Linked DNA regions of Homo sapiens: region 2 is linked to region 1. Evidence: promoter capture Hi-C in human tissues and cell types (Jung and others, 2019). All regions are on one chromosome and are shown on one strand. The core of a region is centred on a gene start or on the middle of the fragment in contact, and the rest is flanking DNA. Distances in the headings are between cores, read along the strand shown. Region 1 holds the start of GIMAP7 (GTPase, IMAP family member 7). Region 2 overlaps LOC107986860 (endogenous retrovirus group K member 19 Env polyprotein-like).

Region 1 (3,660 bases), core at 795-3,294:
GTGCCTTCTAATAGAAGTTTAGGATAGCATCTATGAAGTATTCCCACTAAAAAAACAAAGTCAAACTTTAATCTGATCCAACCTCCCCATTCATATAAATTCACACAAAACACTGGAGCTAGAAGCGAATGTTAAATGACATTGTTAGGATGCAATCAGCAGTATGAATACTGCCCAGTTCTGTTGGACAAAAGACCTTCCCTTCCTTAAACAAAGAAATTTAACACAAAGAAACAAGGAAGGTGAAAACCTACACATTAAGTGAAACATAAGAGATGTCAAACAATTGTAATGTATGAATTTTACTTAGATCCTACCTCAAACAATTTTAAAAATTATGAGATCTTCAGGGAAATCTGAATACAACTGGTAGTATTAAAATTTATAGTTGCCTTTTGAAGGCTGTTTATGAAATTGTGGAAATGTTTTTAAATGGTCTTTATCTTTCAGAGACACATACTCAAATATTTACTGATAAAATGATGTAATGTCTGACATTTGCTTCAAAATAATCTGTGATAGAGTTGAGAATAGGAGCAGATATTTGAACAAGACTGGCATAAATTGATAACTGTGAGATTTTAATATAGGTACATGGAAGTTCCTTATATTGTTTTTACCTTTGAATAAGTATAAATTTTTCACAAATAAAAAAATTAACCCATGTATAGTGTAACCACTATCGAGCAGAGACTGCATATCAGAACACCCTGATAAAACATGTTTTGTATATCTCGTTTATTCTTCAAAAATACTCTACAGTGAAACTAATTTTATTATTCTAATTTTTTAAATGAGGAAGCTGGTGTGGCTCAAAAATTCTGGGAAACATGCCCCTGGTCACTGTGCTAAGAGGTATTGGGCAGAGAAGACATTCGATTCAAAGTCTGTCTGAATCTACCATGCTCACTCTTAACCGTGCACTCTACTGCCTGTTCTTGGCTACTCTCAGGCCATGATTCTAAATTTTCATTGACATGGCACAGAGATAGACCAGTGGAGGGCAAAGGAGATGATCCACGCTTTCTGCAAAAAGGTGAGCTGGGAGCCAGCCTGTTATAAGGGAACCGTGAGGAGGGCTCCGCATTTCTCGTGGACTTTTCCATCTCTCTCATATTGAGAAGCCAAACGTGAGAGAGATGGTCAGAAATATCACTTTAAAACTTTCTCAAGTTTTAAAACTTTCTCAAGTGGTTCCTGGAAGATCCAGAGGACCTCCAGCTAAGAGAAAGGCTGAGAAATGACAAAAGCATTTACAACAGAGGTGAACAGTTCTAAACTGTGGCCAGACCCACCGGTTCTAGAAAATTTCGTAGCTCCTTGAGATCCAGTTCCCTCTGCTATAAAAAAGGAAAATAAAACCAATCTTGCAGGGTTGTCCTTAGGCTTTCATAGAGTGATTTCTATAAAGGTCTTTTATGGCAACTCTTTTTGTACTGAATGGCGCAGCAGCCCCACATGTTACACTGTTAGGGACACAGCTTGTCTCTGCTTAATGCTGGAAAAAGTCAGCAGACTGAATTCTAGTGTTCCTCCGCCATGAGTGATCTGGGTACCCCTTGGAGAATCATCAAAATCTCTGGGATTGGGATTCTGATTCTTTTTCTGTAAGAAGAGGGACTTAGACAGGTGGACTCTAAATTGCCTGTCACCTTTACAAATCTGTCTTAGGAGCCCTTAATTTCTTATGAAGGTTATCAGGCAACACTCTGTGTCTATCACAACAGCCAGTGAGTGGAGGGTGCACTATGCAGCCATGTGTGTCCTGTTACATATGAGATGCATGGGCTCCATGCAAACAAATCTCCTCACTCCCCTTCTACTCACCCCTCCCACAGCACCTTCTATGCAGTGCTGCTTAGCACAGTGCCTTGTCCCTCCTAAGGGCAGAGTCCACTCCAGCCACACACCCTGTCCCCACTGCCCTTCGCAGCCCAATAGCACCAGACCCTCTTCTCAGCCAGGCTCACCTTCTCTTGAACAAGTTGAATTTTCAGGTTTTCTCCAAGGAGGCTGCTTGAGCTGTTGCTTTTGCTTTTACTGTGAGTTAAAAGTGTCTGTACCGCCACCAAAACCTCTCAGTCAGGAAGCTCAGGCTGGGTGGAGCCACACACACAAAAATGTTTGTCTTTAAAGAAACAGAAATACGGCTCCATAATCTGGTGATTGCTTCAGTTTTGCCCGGTTGAAACGTTTTGCCCATGGGCCTGCTATAAACACCATTTCCAAAGCTACATTTTTCGCTTCAGGTTATAGTGATGGATGCAAAAGAGCCTTATTAAATGACCCAAATATTGCCTAGAAAACAAGGCACAGGACCTGATTGTCTTCCCAGGGTGGAGTGGGAGGCTGAGGGGTGATTTGGGGAAGAAGAGAGACAGGCATATACCTTGCCATTTCCAAGCGTAGAGCTGGGGGTTCTTAGTGATTGTATAATATGGGTTTTTTATTATAGTCTTTCAGGAAGGCCTCAAGTTACTCATTCAAAAGTTAACAGCACTGAGGCTCAAAGGCAGAGTCTAAATCATTAGGAACCAAGGGAAAAAAAGGAAGGTGACGCCTGGAAAAATAATCTGCCCATGAACACATAGTTTCTCTAGTTGCTTTTCGTATAATTCTTCCAAGTTTGAAAATATGCATGACCTAACAAGTAAAGATGCACCCAAGGAATAGATCCTACATCCCTTCCCCACCTTCCTCTCTACCCCACATCTTCCTACCCCAGTCTCAGGCAGAGACAGATTTTCCAGAATTTACCCAGTGGATGGTTCCAATCTGCTCTGGAGGTTTCTTGAGGTGAGAGGCAGGTTCCCAAAGCTCTCACGGTTGACCAGATATTCCAGTTGGCTACGTAAGAATACTATGTTTAGAGTTCCAAGCCCACAGCCCCTGTCGCGGCCTTGCCACCCTCCAGCGCCCCACGCCAGGAGTGGGCCTAGAGCGCTCGCCTTGCCCCTCTGTGATCCGGGCTCCGGCACCCGCCCAGGTCCGCACCACTGGCAGCCTGTAGGGAGTCGCTGGCCGTCGTCGCCGCTAAGTAGGATATATCTGCATCTTCAAAGGAAGATAAAACAAAAGCCTTCTTTGGAATATTTGGATTTTTGTCACTTTCTGTGAGCTTTAGTTCAAGAACACAAGTTGAATCACTCAAACATGAAAAACAAGTCTGAAACCAGTATCCATCAATACTTGGTCGAAGAGCCAACCCTTTCCTGGTCGCCTCCATCCACTAGAGCCAGTGAAGTAGTATGTTCCGCCAACGTTTCTCACTACGAGCTCCAAGTAGAAATAGGAAGAGGATTTGACAAGTTGACTTCTGTCCATCTAGCACGGCATACTCCTACGGGAACGCTGGTAACTACAAAAATTACAAATCTGGAAAACGGCAATAAAGAACGCCTGAAAGTTTTACAGAAAGCCATGATTCTATCCCACTTTTTCCGGCATCCCAATATTACAACTTATTGGACAGTTTTCACTGTTGGCAGCTGGCTTTGGGTTATTTCTCCATTTATGGCCTATGGTTCAGCAAGACAACTCTTGAGGACCTATTTTCCTGAAGGAATGAGTAAAACTTTAATAAGAAACATTCTCTTTGGAGCAGTGAGAGGATTGAACTATCTCTACCAATATGGCTGTATTCACAGGAGAATTAAAGCC
Region 2 (3,965 bases), core at 1,101-3,600, 33 kb before region 1:
TTCATGGAAAGGCCTCTGACAAGTACTCTTGAATACAAGTTTCAGATAACTTTGGAGATCATATCATTGGACTAGGTAAAAACTTTCAGGACTGCAGTTAAAAGCTAGTGCATTTATGAGGATTGCTAACCCAACATCAGGCAGAACAATAATTACTTACACAAAACTGAACAAATAGAGGACTGAAATAATTTTATGACTTCCTTGGTTGTAACATTGCTAATTCTTTTTGTGTTCTGTTTTCCAGAGTCAAGAAAACTTTTTTCTTTTGAGCTATTTATAGCTTACAACAAATTGAGTGAAGTATACTATTATAAGCAAAAATGTGAAGGATTTATCTTTCTCTCTACCTGATTTCTTCAGAATTTAGAAACTATTTGTGAACATTCTTAATTTATGGCAATATAATTATTTATATAAGTTTAATAATAATCTGTTTTCTTTTATAACAGGAATCAATTGGAGACTTGTTATTTTACCGAGGCTGTGAGAGAAATGGCATATTTTCAGATATGTCCAGATTACTTTGAGGAATTAAGGTTGACTTTTTAGACCCGAAAGGAAGCCTCTTGGAAAGACTGGCCTGGCACTTTTTCTATGCAGTTGCTTTACAAGGTTCCTGACCTGTGGTCAGTAAAGAATGTCACTTTATGACAGGCCCAGAAATCTCAAGTTATTTTGGGACTTTGAGAAGAAACAACTTCACACAATTCGTATGGGTATCACAGGCAATCTGATAAATCCCTGACTTGAATAGCTTTGAGAGGCCTTTCAAATCAGAGATTCCTTATGAAAAGTTCAAACAAAGCCAATCAAAAAAGCAAAACGTTATTCTTGCTGCACTTTATGCAAATAATTAGACCACATTTAACCAGACTAAAATCTACTTTGCACACAAATTAGTTTTATTATAATTTGTATCTGGTACAAAAAGGGATCCAGAGAGAGAGAGAGAGAAAGAGAGAGAGAGAGAAAGAAGGAAAGAAAGAAAGAAAGAAAGAAGAAAGAAGGAAAGAAAGAAAGAAAGAAAGAAGAAGGAAAGAAAGAAAGAAAGAAAGAAAGAAAGAAAGAAAGAAAGAAAGAAAGAAAGAAAGAAATTGTATTTCAAAAGAAACCTATAACATACCTGTCATTAGATTCTAGCCTTGAACACTGTTTTTGGTTTTTATTATTTGACAACTCATTAAAGAAGAAAAAACTCATAATTTTCTTTTTTCTTTAAAGTATTTAATTATTTATTTATTTTTATTATACTTTAAGTTCTGGGATACATGTGCAGAACGTGCAGGTTTGTTACATAGGTATCCATACGCCATGGTGGTTTGCTGCACCTATCAACCTGTTGCCTACATTAGGTATTTCTCCTAATGCTATCCCTCCCCTTGCCCCCAACCTCCTGACAGGCCCCAGTGTGTGATGTTCCCCTCCCTGTGCCCATATGTTCTCATTGTGCAACTCCCACTTATGAGTGAGAATATGTGGTGTTTGGTTTTCTATTTCTCTGTTAGTTTGCTGAGAATGATAGTTTCCACTTTCATCCATGTCCCTGAAAAGACATGAATTCATTCTTTTTTATGGCTGCATACTATTCCAAGCATATATGTGCCTCATTTTCTTTATCCAGTCTATCATTGATGGGCCCTTGGGTTTGTTCCAAGTCTTTGCTGTTGTGAATAACGCTGCAATAAACATACGTGTGCATGTGTCTTCATAGTAGAATGATTTATAATCCTTTGGGTATATACCCAGTAATGGGATCGTTGGGTTAAATGGGATTTCTAGTTCTAGATCCTTGAGGAATTGCCACACTGTCTTTCACAATGGGTGAACCAATTTACACTCCCACCAACAGTGTAAGAGCATTTCTGTTTCCCCACATCCTGTCCAGCATCTATTGTTACCTGACTTTTTAATGATCACCATTCTAACTGGCATGAGATGGTATCTAATTGTGGTTTTGATTTGCATTTCTCTAATTTTTTATGTTTGTTCGCTGCATAAATGTCTTCTTTTGAAAAATGTCTGTGCATATCTTTTGCCCACTTTTTGATGAGGTTTTTTTTTCTTGTAAATTTGTTTAACTCCCTTGTAAATTCTGGATATTAGACCTTTGTCAGATGGAGAGATTGCAAAAATTTTCTCCCATTCTGTAGGTTGCATGTTCACACTGACAATAGTTTTTTTTTTTTTTTTTTTTTTTTTTTTTGCTGTGCAGAAGCTTTTTAGTTTACTTAGATCTCATTTGTCAATTTTGGCTTTTGTTGCAATTGCTTTTGGTGTTTTAGACATGAAGTCTTTTCCCATGCCTATGTCCTGAATGGTATTGCTTAGGTTATCTTCTAGGATTTTTATGGTTTTAGGTCTTACATTTAAATCTTTACTCCATCTTGAGTCAATTTTTGTATAAGGTATAAGGAAGGGGTCCAGTTTCTGTTTTCTGCATATGGCTAACCAGTTTTCCCAACACCGTTTATTAAATAGAGAATCCTTTCCCCATTGCTTGTTTTTGTCAGGTTTGTTGAAGATCAGATGGTTGTAGATGTGCAGTGTCATTTCTGAGGCCTCTGTTCTGTTCCATTGGTCTATATATCTGTGTTGGTACCAGTACCATGCTGTTTTGGTTACTGTAGCCCTGTAGTATAGTTTGAAGTCAGGTAGCATGATGCCTTAAGCTTTGTTCTTTTCGCTTAGGATTGCTTTGTCTATAAGGGCTCTTTTTTGGTTCCATATGAAATTTAAAGTAGTTTTTTTCTAATTCTGTGAAGAAAGTCAATGGTAGCTTCATGGGAATAGCATTGAATCTATAAATTACTTTGGGCAGTATGGCCACTTATAAGACATTGATTCTTCCTATCCATGAGCATGGAATGTTTTTCCATTTGTTTGTGTGCTCTCTTATTTCCTCCAGCAATGGTTTGTAGTTCTCCTTGAAAAGGTCCTTCACATCTCTGTAAGTTGTATTCCTAGGTATTTTATTCTCTTTGTAGTAATTGTGAATGGGAGTTTGCTCATGATTTGGCTGTCTATTATTGGTGTATAGGAATACTTGTAATTTTTGCACATTGATTTTCTATCCTGAGACATTGCTGAAGTTGCTTATCATCTTAAAAAGTTTTGGGGCTGAGATGATAGGGTTTTCTAAATAAACAATCATGTCATCTGCAAACAGAGATAATTTGACTTCCTCTCTTCCTATTTGAATATCCTTTATATCCTTCTCTTACCTGATTGCCCTGACCAGAACTTCCAATACTATGTCGAATGGGAGTTGTGAGAGAGGGCATCCTTGTCTTGTGCACCTTTTCGAAGGGAATGCTTCCATCTTTTGCCCATTCAGTATGATTTTGGATGTGCGTTTGTCATAAATAGCTCCCATTATTTTGAGATATGTTCCATCAATATCTAGTTTATTGAGAGTTTTTAGCATAAAGTGTGTTGAATTTTGTCGAAGGCTTTTTCTGCATCTATTGAGATAATCACGTGGTTTTTGTCATTGGTTTTGTTTATGTGATGGATTACATTTATTGCTTTGCATATGTTGAACCAGCCTTGCATCCCAGGGATAAAGCTGATGTGATCGTGGTGGATAAGCTTTTTAATGTGCTGCTAAATTTGATATGCCAGTATTTTATTGAGGATTTTTGCATCGATGTTCATCAATGATATTGGCCTGAAATTTTCTTTTTTTGTTGTGTCTCTGTCAGGTTTTAGTATCAGGATGATGCTGGCCTCATAAAATGAGTTAGGGAGGAATCCCTCTTCTTCTATTGTTTGGAATAGTTTGAGAAGGAATGACACCAGCTCATCTTTGTACCTCTGGTAGAATTTGGCCCTGAATCCATCTGGTCCTGGGCTTTTCTTGATTTGTAGGCTATTAATTACTGCCTCAACTTCAGAACTTGTTATTGGTTTATTCAGGGATTTGACTTCTTCCTGGTTTTGTCTTGGGAGTGTGTAAGTGTCCA

What was found. Contacts are between HindIII fragments. The study calls those that stand out against the background at their distance.
Region 2: a contact is called between a fragment that was not itself captured here and the fragment with the promoter of GIMAP7 in region 1, in 1 of the 25 tissues and cell types used here (psoas muscle).

The regions. Positions count from the first base shown.
Region 1 is chr7:150,513,256-150,516,915 of GRCh38, reverse strand. It overlaps GIMAP7 (GTPase, IMAP family member 7), which reads right to left and starts at 2,044. Exons shown (of 2, transcript NM_153236.4): 1 at 1,971-2,044. It also overlaps the pseudogene STRADBP1. RefSeq lists enhancers at 1,893-2,152, 2,163-2,322. The HindIII fragment of the contact is 14,588 bases long and covers 1-3,660 here.
Region 2 is chr7:150,546,065-150,550,029 of GRCh38, reverse strand. It overlaps LOC107986860 (endogenous retrovirus group K member 19 Env polyprotein-like), which reads left to right. Exons shown (of 2, transcript XM_017012936.2): 2 at 453-955. The coding sequence ends at 490. Among named protein-coding and RNA genes, the nearest start is that of GIMAP4, 19 kb to the left of the region's middle. The HindIII fragment of the contact is 5,501 bases long and covers 1-3,965 here.